Regions from separate parts of the Homo sapiens genome. Here regions 1, 2 and 4 are each linked to region 3. The links are contacts of gene promoters, found by promoter capture Hi-C in human tissues and cell types (Jung and others, 2019). All regions are on one chromosome and are shown on one strand. The core of a region is centred on a gene start or on the middle of the fragment in contact, and the rest is flanking DNA. Distances in the headings are between cores, read along the strand shown.

Evidence for each region. Contacts are between HindIII fragments. The study calls those that stand out against the background at their distance.
Region 1: a contact is called between a fragment that was not itself captured here and the fragment with the promoter of TPBGL in region 3, in 1 of the 25 tissues and cell types used here (mesendoderm cells).
Region 2: a contact is called between a fragment that was not itself captured here and the fragment with the promoter of TPBGL in region 3, in 2 of the 25 tissues and cell types used here (lymphoblastoid cells and mesenchymal stem cells).
Region 4: the fragment with the promoter of NEU3 here is called in contact with the fragment with the promoter of TPBGL in region 3 in 1 of the 25 tissues and cell types used here (dorsolateral prefrontal cortex).

Annotation. Positions count from the first base shown.
Region 1 is chr11:75,389,329-75,392,944 of GRCh38, forward strand. No RefSeq gene overlaps it. Among named protein-coding and RNA genes, the nearest start is that of RPS3, 8.4 kb to the right of the region's middle. The HindIII fragment of the contact is 5,892 bases long and covers 1-3,616 here.
Region 2 is chr11:75,004,802-75,008,580 of GRCh38, forward strand. NEU3 (neuraminidase 3) reads left to right here. Exons shown (of 3, transcript NM_006656.6): 3 at 612-3,779. The coding sequence ends at 1,691. Among named protein-coding and RNA genes, the nearest start is that of NEU3, 18 kb to the left of the region's middle. The HindIII fragment of the contact is 5,878 bases long and covers 1-3,779 here.
Region 3 is chr11:75,239,244-75,243,185 of GRCh38, forward strand. It overlaps TPBGL (trophoblast glycoprotein like), which reads left to right and starts at 1,531. Exons shown (of 1, transcript NM_001195528.2): 1 at 1,531-3,942. The coding sequence starts at 1,807. The coding sequence ends at 2,955. LOC124902717 (a long non-coding RNA gene) reads right to left here and starts at 627. Exons shown (of 2, transcript XR_007062783.1): 1 at 403-627. RefSeq lists silencers at 2,437-2,686, 2,817-2,896. The HindIII fragment of the contact is 18,187 bases long and covers 1-3,942 here.
Region 4 is chr11:74,987,607-74,991,555 of GRCh38, forward strand. NEU3 (neuraminidase 3) reads left to right here and starts at 1,327. Exons shown (of 3, transcript NM_006656.6): 1 at 1,327-1,548. The coding sequence starts at 1,455. RefSeq lists enhancers at 1,077-1,126, 1,407-1,596. The HindIII fragment of the contact is 16,586 bases long and covers 1-1,467 here.

The sequences.
Region 1 (3,616 bases), core at 496-2,995, 150 kb after region 3:
CTGTCCTCTACGTTGTGGTAGTGTGGTCCTTTTGCCTGTAACGAAATAGTGCCTGCTCTGTGTAAGAATGAAAGGCACTGGTGTCTTGTGGTCTTCCCCTAAGAGCAGAGATATGAGCCACGTGTTCGTGTTGGGTAGGACTTGTTGAAACTGACTCACTAAACAAAAACACTGAAGATTAATGTAAACCTAAATGCCAAATTGTTTGTCTGCATTAAAAGCAATGACGGCCGGGCGCGGTGGCTCACGCCTATAATCCCAGCACTTTGGGAGGCCGAGGCGGGTGGATCATGAGGTCAGGAAATCGAGACCATCCTGGCTAACACGGTGAAACCCCGTCTCTACTAAAAATACAAAAAAAATTTAGCCGGGCGTGGAGGCGGGCGCCTATAGTCCTAGCTACTCGGGAGGCTGAGGCAGGAGAATGGCGTGAACCCGGGAGGCGGAGCTTGCAGTGAGCCGAGATCGCGCCACTGCACTCCAGCCTGGGCAACAGAGCGAGACTCCGTCTCAAAAAAAAAAAAAAAAAAAAAAAAGCAATGCTAACCCATTCCATCTAACAAGGATTTTCCATGTGCTAAGCACTAAGCTAAATGCTTTACAGATACCATTTAATTCAATCATAGAAATTCTATGAAATTAATGATAATTCCTCCATGTTATGGATGAAGACTCTTAGACTCAGAAAGGTTAAGTGACTTGCCTGAGATCACAAAGCTTGTAAGTGGCAGTACTGGGATAGGAAATAGACTGAGCTGGCTTCCAGTTTGCCCTCTGTCTGCCTCCACCTGAGCTGCCCACTCCCTTTCCACCCTCCAGGCATGGCGCCAGCGTCCCTCGCCGCCGGGTGTATTGTGGTGCCCCCATTTGTGTGATATTGCAGGTGCACATTGACTCCTCACAGTGGGTATCGACACCTAGGGAGAGATCTGGAAACTTGTGCCCCCGTAGTTTACACTGCCTTACCAGAACAGTGTCATTTTTATTTTCCTGGGTCTTTTTTCTTTTTTCCAAAAGGAGTCTCGCTCTGTCGCCCAGACTGGAATGCAGTGGCGCGATCTCAGCTCGCTGCAACCTCCACCTCCTGGGTTCGAGTGATTCTCCTGCCTCAGCCTCCTGAATAGCTGGGATTACAGGCACGCACCACCACTTCCAACTAATTTTTGTTAGAGACGAGGTTTCACCATGTTGGCCAGGCTGGTCTCAAACTCTTGACCTCAAGTGATCTGCCTGCCTTGGCCTCCCAAAGTGCTGGGATTACAGGCGTGAGCCACCATCTCCAGGCTTTCCTGGGTCATTTTTATTTCCTTCTTTGTTCTTTTCAATATTTTTAAATGAAAGCATTTTATTGTTTAAATCAGGAAACTATTTTCATAATTCAGGGGTGTTCTCTTGCTCCCAAAGTGTTCAACCCATTTACGCTGCCTGGTGCATCCACTACTCTGGTAAACAACTGAGCCTCTTGTAAGCCTCCACTGAAGAACTGAAACTCTGTGACATCTTTTCCAACACCCTGCCTTCCCCAACGCCTTCTCACTGTAATGCCCCTTATGATGCCTATCACACTCATTTATCTGTATCCCCACTCCCAGCTCTGAGCTCCTGGAAGGCAGCAGCGGAGTCAGATTCTTCAGTGACACTAGGATCTGGCATCGGCACTGGTTCCAAGCAAGAATAACTAATGCCAATTGAATACACTGCATCCCGGATGCTTTACTATGTGCTAAGCACTTTGCCTGTATTAATTCATTTACTCTTACAACTATTCCAGGGTGTGGGTTTACTATTATTTTCATCACATTTTACAGATGAAGTAACTGATGCACAGATAACACACCTGAGGTCGCCTAGCTGGTAACTATAGAAACCCAGACCAGGAATGCGAGACCAGGCTGTCGGGCTCAAACATACGCCACACTGAAGAGGTGCTTGGTAATGCTTTGCTAAATGAAAAAACCTAGAGTTTCTCCAAAGTATCATTCAATCTGAAAAGTGTTTTGAATACAGCTGGGAGCAGTGGCCACACCTGTAATCACAACTATTTGGGAGGCTGAGTGAGGTGTGAGGATGGCGTGAGGCCAGGAGTTTGGGAGCAGCCTGGGCAACATAGCAAAACCCTGTCTCTAAAATAAATAAATAAATAAATAAAATTGATCAGGGGGAGTGCCTTGAATAGTCCCAAAGGCAGGAAATTACGCTTATTTTTTTGTGTGTCTTTTTTTTTTTTTTCTTCCTTTTTGTGAAGAACAGGGTCTTGCTATATTGCCCAGGCAGGTCTCGAACTCCTGGGCTCAAGCTATCCTCCTGCCTCTGCCTCCCTGAGATCTGGGATTACAGGCGTGAGCCACCGCGCCCAGCTTCAAAGGCAGGAATTTAAATCCACATCCCAGCCCACTGTGCGGATCCAGTGGCCACACAGCCAGTTTATTCAGGAAAACCTGAACAAAGTTAAGTGGTTGCACTCACTGAGTTCACCTCTCCTCATTTACTAAACCATTTGGACCTCAGTTTATAGAAGAGAAAGAACACGTATATGTGGGTGAGGGGCTGTGGTGGTCTCACTTCCCTGGCTCCAGGCCTCCAGGCCTCCAGGAGCAATCCTGAACTTCCCTTAATCTGCCTCTTCCATCCTTATAAAGCTGATCTTCTAGGTCAGGGTGGGGTCCCAGGAACTCACCTGACTATGAAACTTAACTGTGAGTTTGCTATCAACTGTCTCTAAAAAAGAAAAAGAAAAAGGAATTGCCAGTCACCCCAGCCTTCAACAACCACCACCCTGATCAGTCAGCAGCCATCAACATCAAGGCAAGATCTTCCACCAGCAAAAAGATTATGACTCACTGAAAGCTCAGATGATCATTGGCATTTTTTATCAATAAAGTATTTTTAATTAAGATATGTACATTTTGGTTTTAGACATAATGCTATTGCACACTTAATAGACTACAGTTAAGTGTGCAATGGTGCAAATATAACTTTTACATGCACTATAGTGTAAATATAACTTTGATATGCACTGGGAAACAAAACAAATTCATGTGACTCACTTTGTTGGGATGTGTCTGGAGCCAAACCTGCAACGTCTCTGAGGTATACCTGTAATTCTAAATGTTCTAGTAGCAAAAAGCAAAAAGAAATAGATGAACTTAATTGTAATAACATTTTATTTAACCCTATATATAAAGTGTTATTGTTTCAACATGTAATCAATATAAAATATTAATGAGACATTATATTCCTTTTTGTATTTCCAAATCTGGTGTGTATTTTATGCTTACAGCATTTTTCCATCCAGACTAGCCATTTTTATGTGCTCAAAAGCCCCATGAGGTCAGTGCCTATGGTATAAGATAATACAAATGTATAGTCTGAATAAGAGACTCTGAGTTTTTTTTTTTTTTTTTTTTTTCCTGAGACGGAGTCTTGCTCTGTCGCCCAGGCTGTAGTGCAGTGGCGCCATCTCGGCTCACTGCAACCTCCGCCTCCCAGGTTCAAGCAATTCTCCTGCCTCAGCCTCCCGAGTAGCTGAGATTACAGGTGTGTGCCACCACACTCGGCTAATTTTGTATTTTTAGTAGAGATGGGGTTTCACCATGTTGGCCAGGCTGGCCTTGAA
Region 2 (3,779 bases), core at 369-2,868, 230 kb before region 3:
GTGTAGTACAGGAGGGAAAAAAATTTGTCTTAAATTTCCTTTTATTTGCTTAAAATTTCTGTATTTGTTTGCCTTGCTTTTCTTTTCTTCCTTTTCTTTTTTCTTTCTTTCCTTTCCTTTCTTTTTTTTTTCTTTCTTTCTTTCTTTGTAAAAATATTTAGCACCTATTATGTACCAGGGGCTGGAGAATCAATATTAGTAACCAATAGTATAAGCCCTGAAAAGGCTCATAGTCTAGAAAAGGAAGACAGTCATAAAAAGTTACAATGTTATACAATAAATGTATTAGGGGAGGAGAGTGAGTTTCATGGAAGGCTTTATAAAGGAGGTGACTTTTGAGTTGGGTATGGAGGATGATTTGGAAGTCTAGATGAAATGAGGAATAGCATTCCAGACAGAGGAGACAGCTTGTACAACATTTAGCATTGTCTCTTTCCAGCTTTGTAAGTTATCCTGTAATATCCGAGAATTTAGTGAGTAGTTAGGCCTTCGTGATTTTATAGATTTCAATATCATTTATTTCTTATTTATGAAAAATACTAATACTTTTAATGAGCTTCATGTTTTCCTATTAGTATCTCACTCCTACTTTCTCCCTTCTCCTTGTCTAGTGGGGGCCCCTGAAGCCACTGATGGAAGCCACACTACCGGGGCATCGGACCATGAACCCCTGTCCTGTATGGGAGCAGAAGAGTGGTTGTGTGTTCCTGTTCTTCATCTGTGTGCGGGGCCATGTCACAGAGCGTCAACAGATTGTGTCAGGCAGGAATGCTGCCCGCCTTTGCTTCATCTACAGTCAGGATGCTGGATGTTCATGGAGTGAGGTGAGGGACTTGACTGAGGAGGTCATTGGCTCAGAGCTGAAGCACTGGGCCACATTTGCTGTGGGCCCAGGTCATGGCATCCAGCTGCAGTCAGGGAGACTGGTCATCCCTGCGTATACCTACTACATCCCTTCCTGGTTCTTTTGCTTCCAGCTACCATGTAAAACCAGGCCTCATTCTCTGATGATCTACAGTGATGACCTAGGGGTCACATGGCACCATGGTAGACTCATTAGGCCCATGGTTACAGTAGAATGTGAAGTGGCAGAGGTGACTGGGAGGGCTGGCCACCCTGTGCTATATTGCAGTGCCCGGACACCAAACAGGTGCCGGGCAGAGGCGCTCAGCACTGACCATGGTGAAGGCTTTCAGAGACTGGCCCTGAGTCGACAGCTCTGTGAGCCCCCACATGGTTGCCAAGGGAGTGTGGTAAGTTTCCGGCCCCTGGAGATCCCACATAGGTGCCAGGACTCTAGCAGCAAAGATGCACCCACCATTCAGCAGAGCTCTCCAGGCAGTTCACTGAGGCTGGAGGAGGAAGCTGGAACACCGTCAGAATCATGGCTCTTGTACTCACACCCAACCAGTAGGAAACAGAGGGTTGACCTAGGTATCTATCTCAACCAGACCCCCTTGGAGGCTGCCTGCTGGTCCCGCCCCTGGATCTTGCACTGTGGGCCCTGTGGCTACTCTGATCTGGCTGCTCTGGAGGAGGAGGGCTTGTTTGGGTGTTTGTTTGAATGTGGGACCAAGCAAGAGTGTGAGCAGATTGCCTTCCGCCTGTTTACACACCGGGAGATCCTGAGTCACCTGCAGGGGGACTGCACCAGCCCTGGTAGGAACCCAAGCCAATTCAAAAGCAATTAATTGGCTTAGGACCCAATTTCCATAGATGCAAATGGCAGTTACAGACAGGTTAACAGAAGCTACTGAAGTCTACAGATAATCAAAAAACTTAATATTCTGTTCCCTACCTTTTTTCACTTTTCCTCCTCCAAAGAGCAAAATGAAAATTTTGCCTTAGCTACTGCAGTGGAAAGAGCACTGAACTAGGAGTTGGAAGACAAGGATGTGGTCCTGGCTCTGCCACTGGCTTGCTTTTGGACCTTGGATGTGTCACCTGAACTCTCTGGACCTCAGGTTTCCATCTGTAAAATGAGAGTATTGGTTCTAAGATTTCTCATCTTCTCATCCCTAGGACAAGCATAGTGCCTGCATGCTTCATGATCAGTAAGTCCTGGCTGCATAAAGGACTCTGATGTCAAAATGGAAACCAGGGGACTTACCTTTTCACATGACTTACCCCTCATCCGAGTGTGAGGTTACAAGCAGGTGTCATGGCAGGAAGGAAGACCAGATCTGTATGATTTGTTCCATTTTTAATAACAAAAATATCCACACCCTTTTAATAATGCTCAGTTCTGTAGGCTCTCTATCCTAGAGGAATTGAGCAAAACAGAAGAATCATGAAGTCTCCTACCTTCTACAGCCTTGTAGTTCTGCTTACCTTCTCTTCCTCATCCAGAAAGCATCATTTTCTAGGGAGAACAATGAGAATCTCAATGCCAGTAGTACTGGATAATAGTGCGTATTGCTTCTGGTGGCATTACCCTGATGATGGGCTGAAGTTCATTTATTAGGGTGGTTCCTGATGGGAAAAGGACATGGATTAGGACTTTAAAACACTGGACAGAATTTCCCACAGTCTTTGCCCTCAAGGAGTTCACCAGTTTATGGGGCTAGAAGAGCGAGAAAATTCAAGAAAATAAATGTAGCTGGTGGGAGACTTTGTAGATGTTGGGCTATATGTTGGGGTGATGGTAGCTCCTGATGTAATTTTCTTAGTTGCATCTTCAATATGCCTGGAGTCGTCTGTCCAAGGCTTGTCCAGGCTTCTGGGTTTCTCTCAAGTTTGTTTTTCTCAGGATATTGTCCTGGCCCAGCTACTCCTTTACCTGTGAGAAGATCTTCACCATTAGGAAGATCTCTAGACCCCCAGATCTCAGAATCAGGCCTATTTGTGTAGGCCCATGGAAATCACTACTTGTGAAGTAGAGATGCCTTTTTGTCTAATGGTTTTCGTGCTGAACTTAGTTCATGCTGAGTCTCTCAGATGATACCACGTTGGTTGTTCCTATCTTAGATTGTTTCTCCCATAGCCTGTTATTGCAACAGAAATTCTATCATGAGAGATTTATTTTTTTGTCCCTATTTTAGGAGTCTAATGCTTAAACTGGTATCAACTAAATATATTTGGTGTTGTACAATGACCACAGAGAACAAGTCTTAGTCATGAAATATAGCCTAGGAGACTAGGGGTTACAGTTGCACTAGTTGGGTAGAGAGAGTCCTACAGGATAAAAGTGGAGATTAACTTTACCTACTTTAGCAGATTGCTTAAGCCATGGCTTAGAGTGGCTTTTAAAAATCCCCTTAGCCTCTCCTACATTTGCCAAGGTAATCTTCCCAATACACAATTATTCACTCATGTATACATTTATCTAAATATTTCTTGAGTGCCTAATACAAGGTACTTTCTACTGCCATTCCTTGGCTCTAAATCATTTGTGGTTCTCCATTGCCTATTATAATGTAAAGATGTTTACATTTAGCCTGGCATGTAGGACCTTCCAGCTGTTGGGTGAAATAATGCACACTTTCCTCTACTTCCTTATATGAGGCCCACTGTCAGGGAAAACCTCTGTCAAGTTGGCAGGTGGAGGGTGGTGGAGGTCTAGGGATGGGCAGGATTGGTGCAGGGAGGAATTGGGGAAGGGGAGAGGATTAAAAGGGCAGCCCCCTCCTGAGTGGTAGAAACTCCTTGTTTAGCAAAGCTTTCCTGAACACTGTACTGCAAGTGGATAGGAATAGGGAGGATGGCCAAGTCGTACAACCAGGGCTAAAGGATGAAAAGAATGAGAATATCAACTTCTTTTTTTTTTTTTTTGAGACAGA
Region 3 (3,942 bases), core at 281-2,780:
GGCCTGTAAGCTTGCCCTCTGAGAATGTATCCACGAACCTGCATGGGCTCAGAAGTGTGCATATTCAAATATGTATGTCTTTATGAATTTATGGACACATGCCAGGACGCACTCAAACCTACGATCCTATGTCCACATATGAATGAGTCTGCATGGACTTGCATGAGACACATCTGAGCTCTCATACCTGGGAGAGTTAAGACAGGGGGTAGGGAAGAGAGAGGGGCTTGGAGGAGGGGAGAGCTGGGAGACCCCCATCATCACCAGCTCTGTTCCTTAATGTTGGTCCTTGCCCAAGACCCAGGCCACTGCAGGGTCTGCCTCTTCTCCTTAAGTGGTATTGATCCTTTGGTCGATCTGTTAAATATAACCTCAGGGAAGGAGTCAACATAACAACCGTACCCAATTCAGGAGAAAGAGACTGATTCTTGGGAGGAGGTGGGGAGCCTCTATTCCAACCAGCTCTGCTGATACCCGAATGGCCTGCGGATCAAGTGTCAGCCTCTCCAGCCTGAATAATTCATGCTAAGGCCAGGAATCCTCCCTTCTCAGGAGCCTGTCTCTTTAAATCAGGTTTAGAGCTTCCCAGTTCTGGGGGAAAAAAAATCCAGAACAAAACAAATCTGTAAACAGCTCAGCCCCCCCACCCTCAGCCCTGGCCCCTTCTGAGACCCCCAACTCCATGCTGCAAAATCTGCTCCTGCTCTCCCAACCTCTGGTGCCCCAAACCCCACTCACAGGCGGAGAAGCCTGGAGGGACTAGTTGACAGTGTCCAACGGAACCCCAGGAGTCTTAAGAGGTTTGGGGGCAGGGAGTGAAAGCAAAGAGCAGAATCACTACACCCCCGGGTCTCTGTGCCTAGGACAGTGCTTGGCAGAGAAGCCCAGCCCGGTGGAGGAAACCACACGGGGGAACTCCTGGCAGAGGCAGAGCAGCCAGAGTTGGTGGGTGGGAGGGGAGCGGGTGCCACAGACTTCTCCTGAGAATGGGATGGGATGGGATGGAGAAAAAGCTGGTCCCATAGGACCTGCAGGGGTGGTGACACAGCCAGGTCTAATGGAACTAGGGTCGCAGAGGAGGAAGCAGAGACTGGGGATTTTCCAGTCTCTCTGCCTTAGGAAGAGGCCGGAAAATGAGTAACTTTCTCAGCCCACCCCTCATCCCTTCCTCCGGTAGTAGGAGCAGCTCTAAAGTCCTCCCCAACCCCCGAATTCTCCCTGGTGGTGACCCACCTGCCTGCTCTCCGCAGTCGGGCCCCGCCCCACACGTGCTGGAGAAGGAGGAGGAAGGACCCAGCTTAAATGTTGGGGGTGGAGGAGGAGGAAAACCAAGTCGGAGCCTCCAGGAGCCAAACTTCTCGGCAGCCCGGAGGGGCGGGGGCGGAGAGGATGAAGAGAAAGCGCAGCAGCCGACAGCCCTGATTCTCGGGAGCCTCCCACCCCGCCTCCCACGGCGAGGAGGGCGCGGAGACTCCGCTGGGGGCGGAGGACGAGACCGGGAGGCGGGGAGGGGGGAGGCAAACCCTGCCCACTCGGCTCGGAGCCCGGAGCGGCCGCGGAAGCCGGAGGCCGGCGCGCAGGGCGAGGGCACCGGGGGCGGGGGGCTCCGCTCCCCGTCTGACCCCTCTTGCCCCCGGCCAGTCAGCCAGTAAGTGCGGCTCCTCAGACTTTCGAGACAGCGAACGGACCGACCGGGACTGCCAGCCGCTCCGGGTCAAGGACTCGCCCCACCCGTGCCCCCCACCAGGCGCTCCCAACTCACTGGTGAGCGCGGCGGCCCGGGCGCTGGATGCGGGGGCGGCCGCGATGGCCCCGCGCGCGGGACAGCCGGGGCTCCAGGGGCTGCTGCTCGTGGCGGCGGCGCTGAGCCAGCCCGCGGCACCCTGCCCCTTCCAGTGCTACTGCTTCGGCGGCCCCAAGCTGCTGCTGCGCTGCGCGTCGGGAGCCGAGCTCCGCCAGCCTCCGCGGGACGTGCCGCCCGACGCGCGCAACCTCACCATCGTAGGCGCCAACCTGACGGTGCTGCGCGCGGCCGCCTTCGCCGGCGGGGACGGGGACGGCGACCAGGCGGCGGGCGTGCGCCTGCCGCTCCTGAGCGCGCTGCGCCTCACGCACAACCACATCGAGGTGGTGGAGGACGGCGCCTTCGACGGGCTGCCCAGCCTGGCGGCGCTCGACCTCAGCCACAACCCGCTGCGCGCCCTGGGCGGCGGCGCCTTCCGCGGGCTGCCCGCGCTGCGCTCGCTGCAGCTCAACCACGCGCTGGTGCGCGGCGGCCCCGCGCTGCTGGCCGCGCTGGACGCTGCGCTGGCACCGCTGGCCGAGCTTCGCCTGCTGGGCCTAGCGGGCAACGCGCTGAGCCGTCTGCCGCCAGCCGCCCTGCGCCTGGCGCGCCTGGAGCAGCTGGACGTGCGCCTCAACGCGCTGGCCGGCCTGGACCCCGACGAGCTGCGCGCGCTGGAGCGCGATGGCGGCCTCCCCGGGCCGCGCCTGCTGCTCGCCGACAACCCCCTGCGCTGCGGCTGTGCCGCACGCCCCCTGCTGGCCTGGCTGCGCAACGCCACGGAGCGCGTGCCCGACTCGCGGCGCCTGCGCTGCGCCGCCCCGCGGGCGCTGCTAGACCGGCCGCTACTGGACCTGGACGGGGCGCGGCTTCGCTGCGCGGACAGCGGCGCCGACGCTCGCGGAGAGGAGGCGGAGGCCGCCGGCCCGGAGCTGGAAGCCTCCTACGTGTTCTTCGGGCTGGTGCTGGCACTCATCGGCCTCATCTTCCTCATGGTGCTCTACCTAAACCGCCGCGGCATCCAGCGCTGGATGCGCAACCTGCGCGAGGCGTGCCGGGACCAGATGGAGGGCTACCACTACCGCTACGAGCAGGACGCCGACCCGCGCCGCGCGCCCGCGCCCGCCGCGCCCGCGGGCTCCCGCGCCACCTCCCCGGGCTCGGGGCTCTGAGCGGCGCCCCCGGGCTCGGGGCTTCCCTTGCCTGGCCCGAAGCCGTGGAGATGAGACACCCGCGAGCCCCGAGCTCTGAGACCTTCCCCTGACTCGGAGGCGCTAAGCCGTACCCTCTCGTTCCCGCCTCCGAGAGCTCCCACCGTCAAAGACCCAGAGATAGCCGGTCCGAATCCAGAAACCCCGCCTGCCCACCCTAGTTTCCGAAACCTCCCTCCTGAACCACTGAAAGTCCGTTCCCCGTCTCGGAGCTCACACAGAGAATCTGTCCTTCAAGGCCAAAGCTCTGAGACTTGCCCCCAGCACCCTGTGCTTGGAGCTCCGACACCCGAGACTGCACTGACCTCCCTCGCCAGCTCGGAGCCCTCAGTCCCCTCCGGGGCTTGAGGGCCCTTCCATCCCATTCTGGACTCGAAGCACAGCACCCCCATCAGAATGGTTTTGTGGATTTTGAGCCCTTTGTCCCATCCCAGAGCTCAGAGCCCTCCATCCTGCATGGAGGCCCAACCCTGGGGCTCTGAGGATTGGGCACCCTCCCCTCATCTAAGAATATATTTCATACCCCTGCCCCCCCTTCACCCACCCCCGCCTCTGGCTCAGGCCCTTCCCTTCCTCGGCTCAGGCATGGGGCTCAGCTCCTAGTCTGTCCCTCCCATCCCAGGGACAAGCACAGCCCATCTAGCCTTAGTGTGGAGCCAACTCTCAGCCTTTCCCACCAGGGCGCTGACCTCCCGATACTCAGTGCTGGTCCCCAGTCTCAGACTCTCAGCTCTTCACCCCGATCTGACTTTCGTCCTCCTGCCCAAGCCTTTGGCTCTTGACCCCCCCCCCATACCCAATGCTGGCACTCAGCACCCACCCCTGCCATTCACTAGTCAAGGTCCAGTGAGGAATCCGTCCCTGGGATGTCCTCATCCCCTTTTCGTCCCAGGACGAGCTCTTCAGTCCTGCCGGATAGGTGCAGGTGCCATGCACCCCTAGTGCATA
Region 4 (3,949 bases), core at 77-2,576, 250 kb before region 3:
ATCGAGATCATCCTGGCTAACATGGTGAAACCCCGTCTCTATAAAAAATACAAAAAATTAGCCGGGCGTGGTGGTGGGCGCCTGTAGTCCCAGCTACTCGGGAGGCTGAGGCAGGAGAATGGCGTGAACCCGGGAGGCGGAGCTTGCAGTGAGCCAAGATGACGCCACTGCACTCCAGCCTGGGCGGCAGAGACACACTCCATCTCAAAAAATAAAAATAAAAATAAAAAAGACCCATTATTTGGGCTTATTACGATGAGTTGGTCTCTGGTTCTAGGCCTTTTTTTTTTTCTTTTTTTTTTTTTTTTTTTTAGAAAAATACAGCAGGTTGTATTGAGGTTGGCACCTATGTTCTTTCAAAGAACCCTCATCATTTTGTGAGTTCTTTCCTTGTGGCACCACGATGTTCCAGGCTCATCTTGTATGTTCCCTGCCTCAGCACAGGATTTTTTTTAATGAGAAAAATATCACGAATTCAAATTTACAGAAGCTTTACATTTTTATGTCCTCTAAGTTAGCAGTCTGTCTTTCCTTTTATTGGCGTTTGTAAAATTTCTTCTTTTTAAAATTGTTATATTTTAGAGACAGGGTCTCGCTCTGTCACCCAGGCTGGAGTGCAGTGGTGCAATCACAGCTCACCACAGCCTCCAACTCCTGGGCTCAAGGCATCCTCCCACGTAGGCCTTCCAAAGCGCTGAGATTGTAGGCATAAGCCACCAGGCCCAGCCTATTACCTTTACGTTGTACTTAGTCCCAGATAAAAAATGACCTTAGATCAGTCCTTTCCTCTTTGGCTGGGGAGAGGGGGGCTTAAATTCCGGTACTGTGAAACAGAAGAATGGACTCAGTGCTATGTGACAAATCTATGTATGTAAATGTGTGTATATACACACACATAAATTATATATATGAATATATTTTCATTTTCATATTTTGCAAGGAGAGTAGCCAATGCTCTGGACCTCTGGTCCTTTTTGTAGGGTACCCTCTGAGGCCGGGAACCTTTGCTCAACTCTCAGGCTGTCCAGGGAAGCTTTAGGCGGTGATACCGAGCTACAGACCAATATAAGAGCTCGGGGCTGTGGCACTGAAGAGAGGAGGCGGCCGTTGGGAACTGAGGTGGGCCCAGGGCTTGAGCTGAGTTGGCGAGGGTGGAGGTGGTGCCGGTCCCACGCCGTGGTGGGGACCGAGCTGCGGGCTGGAGGGAGGGGCAGCGCCGAGGGGGCGGGACGGGGAGGGCTCGCGGAGTAGGCCAACGGTTGGCCCCAACCGCCACTGACTACAGCCTGCGCCCGCCTCTTTTCGTTGCCGTTACCTGTTTCCGGCAGTCGACACGCTCTTCGCTTCTCGGGGCTTGTCTCCGTGTCCTCCGTCTCAGTTGTTTCTCCCTCTCTATCCTCCTCTGTCTCAGTCTCCCCAGCCTTGGGGCCGGTGCCTCTTCCGGGCTTCGGCGAATGAGACCTGCGGACCTGCCCCCGCGCCCCATGGAAGAATCCCCGGCGTCCAGCTCTGCCCCGACAGAGACGGAGGAGCCGGGGTCCAGTGCAGGTGAGCGGGGTTGGGAGACAGGAGAGCTCCCCGAGGAGGACTCAACTGTGGGGACAGGTTGAGCAAGACCATCTGCGTTTGGGAAATCCAGCCTTGGATTATTGAGACAGAGCCACCTAGTCGGCTAGGATCTGACCTGGCCAGAGAATTCTTGGCTAGTCCTATTTTTATTCGTTCTCACAGAAGCCGAACTTAAACCTCAGAATTATCACTCCAGAGATGAAAGGGAACTGAGACTGGAAAAGCCCTGCTTACCAAAGGTCTCTGGGCGGCAGAAAGAGCCCTGAGCTTCAGTTTCAACTTAGGAGACCTGGGTCTTGGTCCAGATTTTACTGTGGAGTGGCGTTCAGTAAGCTTTGTCCCCATCCCGGGCCCGAGTTTTCCCATCTATACCATGAGAGGGTTTAGACTACAGATCTTCAAAGGTCTGGCACGTGGTAGGTGCTCCTTAAATATTACTTGTTAGGAGTGAATAAATGAGATAGGAAGGCCTCCTGGGATTCACTGGAGGCTCATTGGGTTAGTTGGAGGCTGTGGAATTACATTATTATAGTCTGAGAAGTAGGCGGTATTATCTCCATTTTATAAGTGAGGAAACTGAAGCTCAGAAGTAAAGTGACTTGCTAGTAAGTGTCAAAGATAAGTCAGACTTCAGAGTCCATGCTAGGCTATACTCTCTCCCAGTAAGAAAGCGGGAAGGACTTGATGGGAAAGTGATTATATCGAGCAGCAAGTAATCATTTGAATTCTCTGCTTAAATGAACCCCAGAGCAGGCCCATATCTGATTATTTTCTATCCCGTTTCCAGCACCTGATTTGTGTGAAACGTTTTGGGTGGCAATGCCAGAATCACCATCTATATTACTTCTGTCATCAACACGATCAGCATAATTACAAAAATTAATGGCTCTAATTGTTATAGTGATAATAAAGCATAAATGAAATTGTGAGGACATCAAAATTTATAATTAAAGACACCTATTAAAACAGCAGTTTAAAATTTATAAAACACTTTTGAGTGGTTCTTCATATTGATCTGCTTAGGTAGGTATTATTATCCATAGTTTACAAGCAAGGAATCCAAGACCTAGAGGTTGAGTAACCATCAAAACGTCATGCAGCAAGAAATGGAGCTGAGACTTGAATCCAGCCCATGTGACAAGTTGTGCTTCTCCTTTGGTGATTATTTCCCTATTTCCTCTCCATTTCCTTTTTTTTTTGAGATGGAGTCTTGCTGTGTCACCCAAGCTGGAGTGCAGTGGTGCAGTCTCGGCTCACTGCAACCTCCGTCTCCTGGTTTCAAGTGATTCTCCTGCCTCAGCCTCCCGAATAGCTGGGATTACAGGTGGATGCCACCATGCCTGGCCAATTTTTTTTGTATTTTTAGTAGAGATGGGGTGTCACCATGTTGGCCAGGGTGGTCTCGAACTCCTGACCTCAAGTGATCTGCCCACCTCAGCCTCCCAGAGTGGTGGGAATATAGGCATGAGCCACCGCACCCAGCCTCTTCCTTTCCTGTTCTGAGCCCTAACCCGCTCCATGCCTATCCTGTGCTCCATTCTTCTTATCACCTGGAGAATTCCTGTTTAGATTTAACTAATAGTCACATGTTGACTGATGATAGTAGTGTTGGTTTAACTTGTAATTAAGGTGTTAAGAGTTTAAAGTATGTTCTCTTTCAGCAATAAAGGGGGATTTAAATGTTTTTAAGAAAGGGAGTTGTAATTGTTATTATTGTCATTGTTATCCACAGGATTCAAGGAATAAAACTAGAATATACAGTAATTGGTAGTTTAAAAATAATAACTGTCATATATTGCACTCATACTATGTCATAGGCCTTGTAATAGCCACTGTAGTTAAGCATTTTATTTCTATCACCTACTCTGCTGAATTGTATAGGGGAGGATCCTGAAGCATAGAGAAGTTGAATAACATGCCCAAGGTCACATAGTCCTGGCCTGGTCCAAATCCTATGTTCTTAACCATTACACCAGCCTGGCTCAGAGACAGATTGTTTGCTTAGAACAAAGCCTGACCCTCCCGGGGAGGAGAGCCTGAATTGAGGGGAGAGAAGTATGCTCTAGTATTGAGTGAGAAGATGGTCTCCCCTTGCTTATCTTTTGATTCTGCTGTTGAGAGCCTGGGATTGAAATGAAGGGAGGCTTTTCTTCTGGACTCAGCAAGGCCACTCTCCCAGTTCCCCTCATGATACTGAGCAATAGTTCTTTTCCCTTCTTCAAGTTAGGAACAAGTGACTAAATATTCATATGCTATTGATAAAAGTTTGTCTTGGTTGACACTAGGAGGCTGTAGCCAAAAGCAGTGCAACTTTGCCGTATGGTTCACTGTCCTGAAAGCTTCCTGGAAGATTGGTCTAAAATCATCATGCCATTCCTCT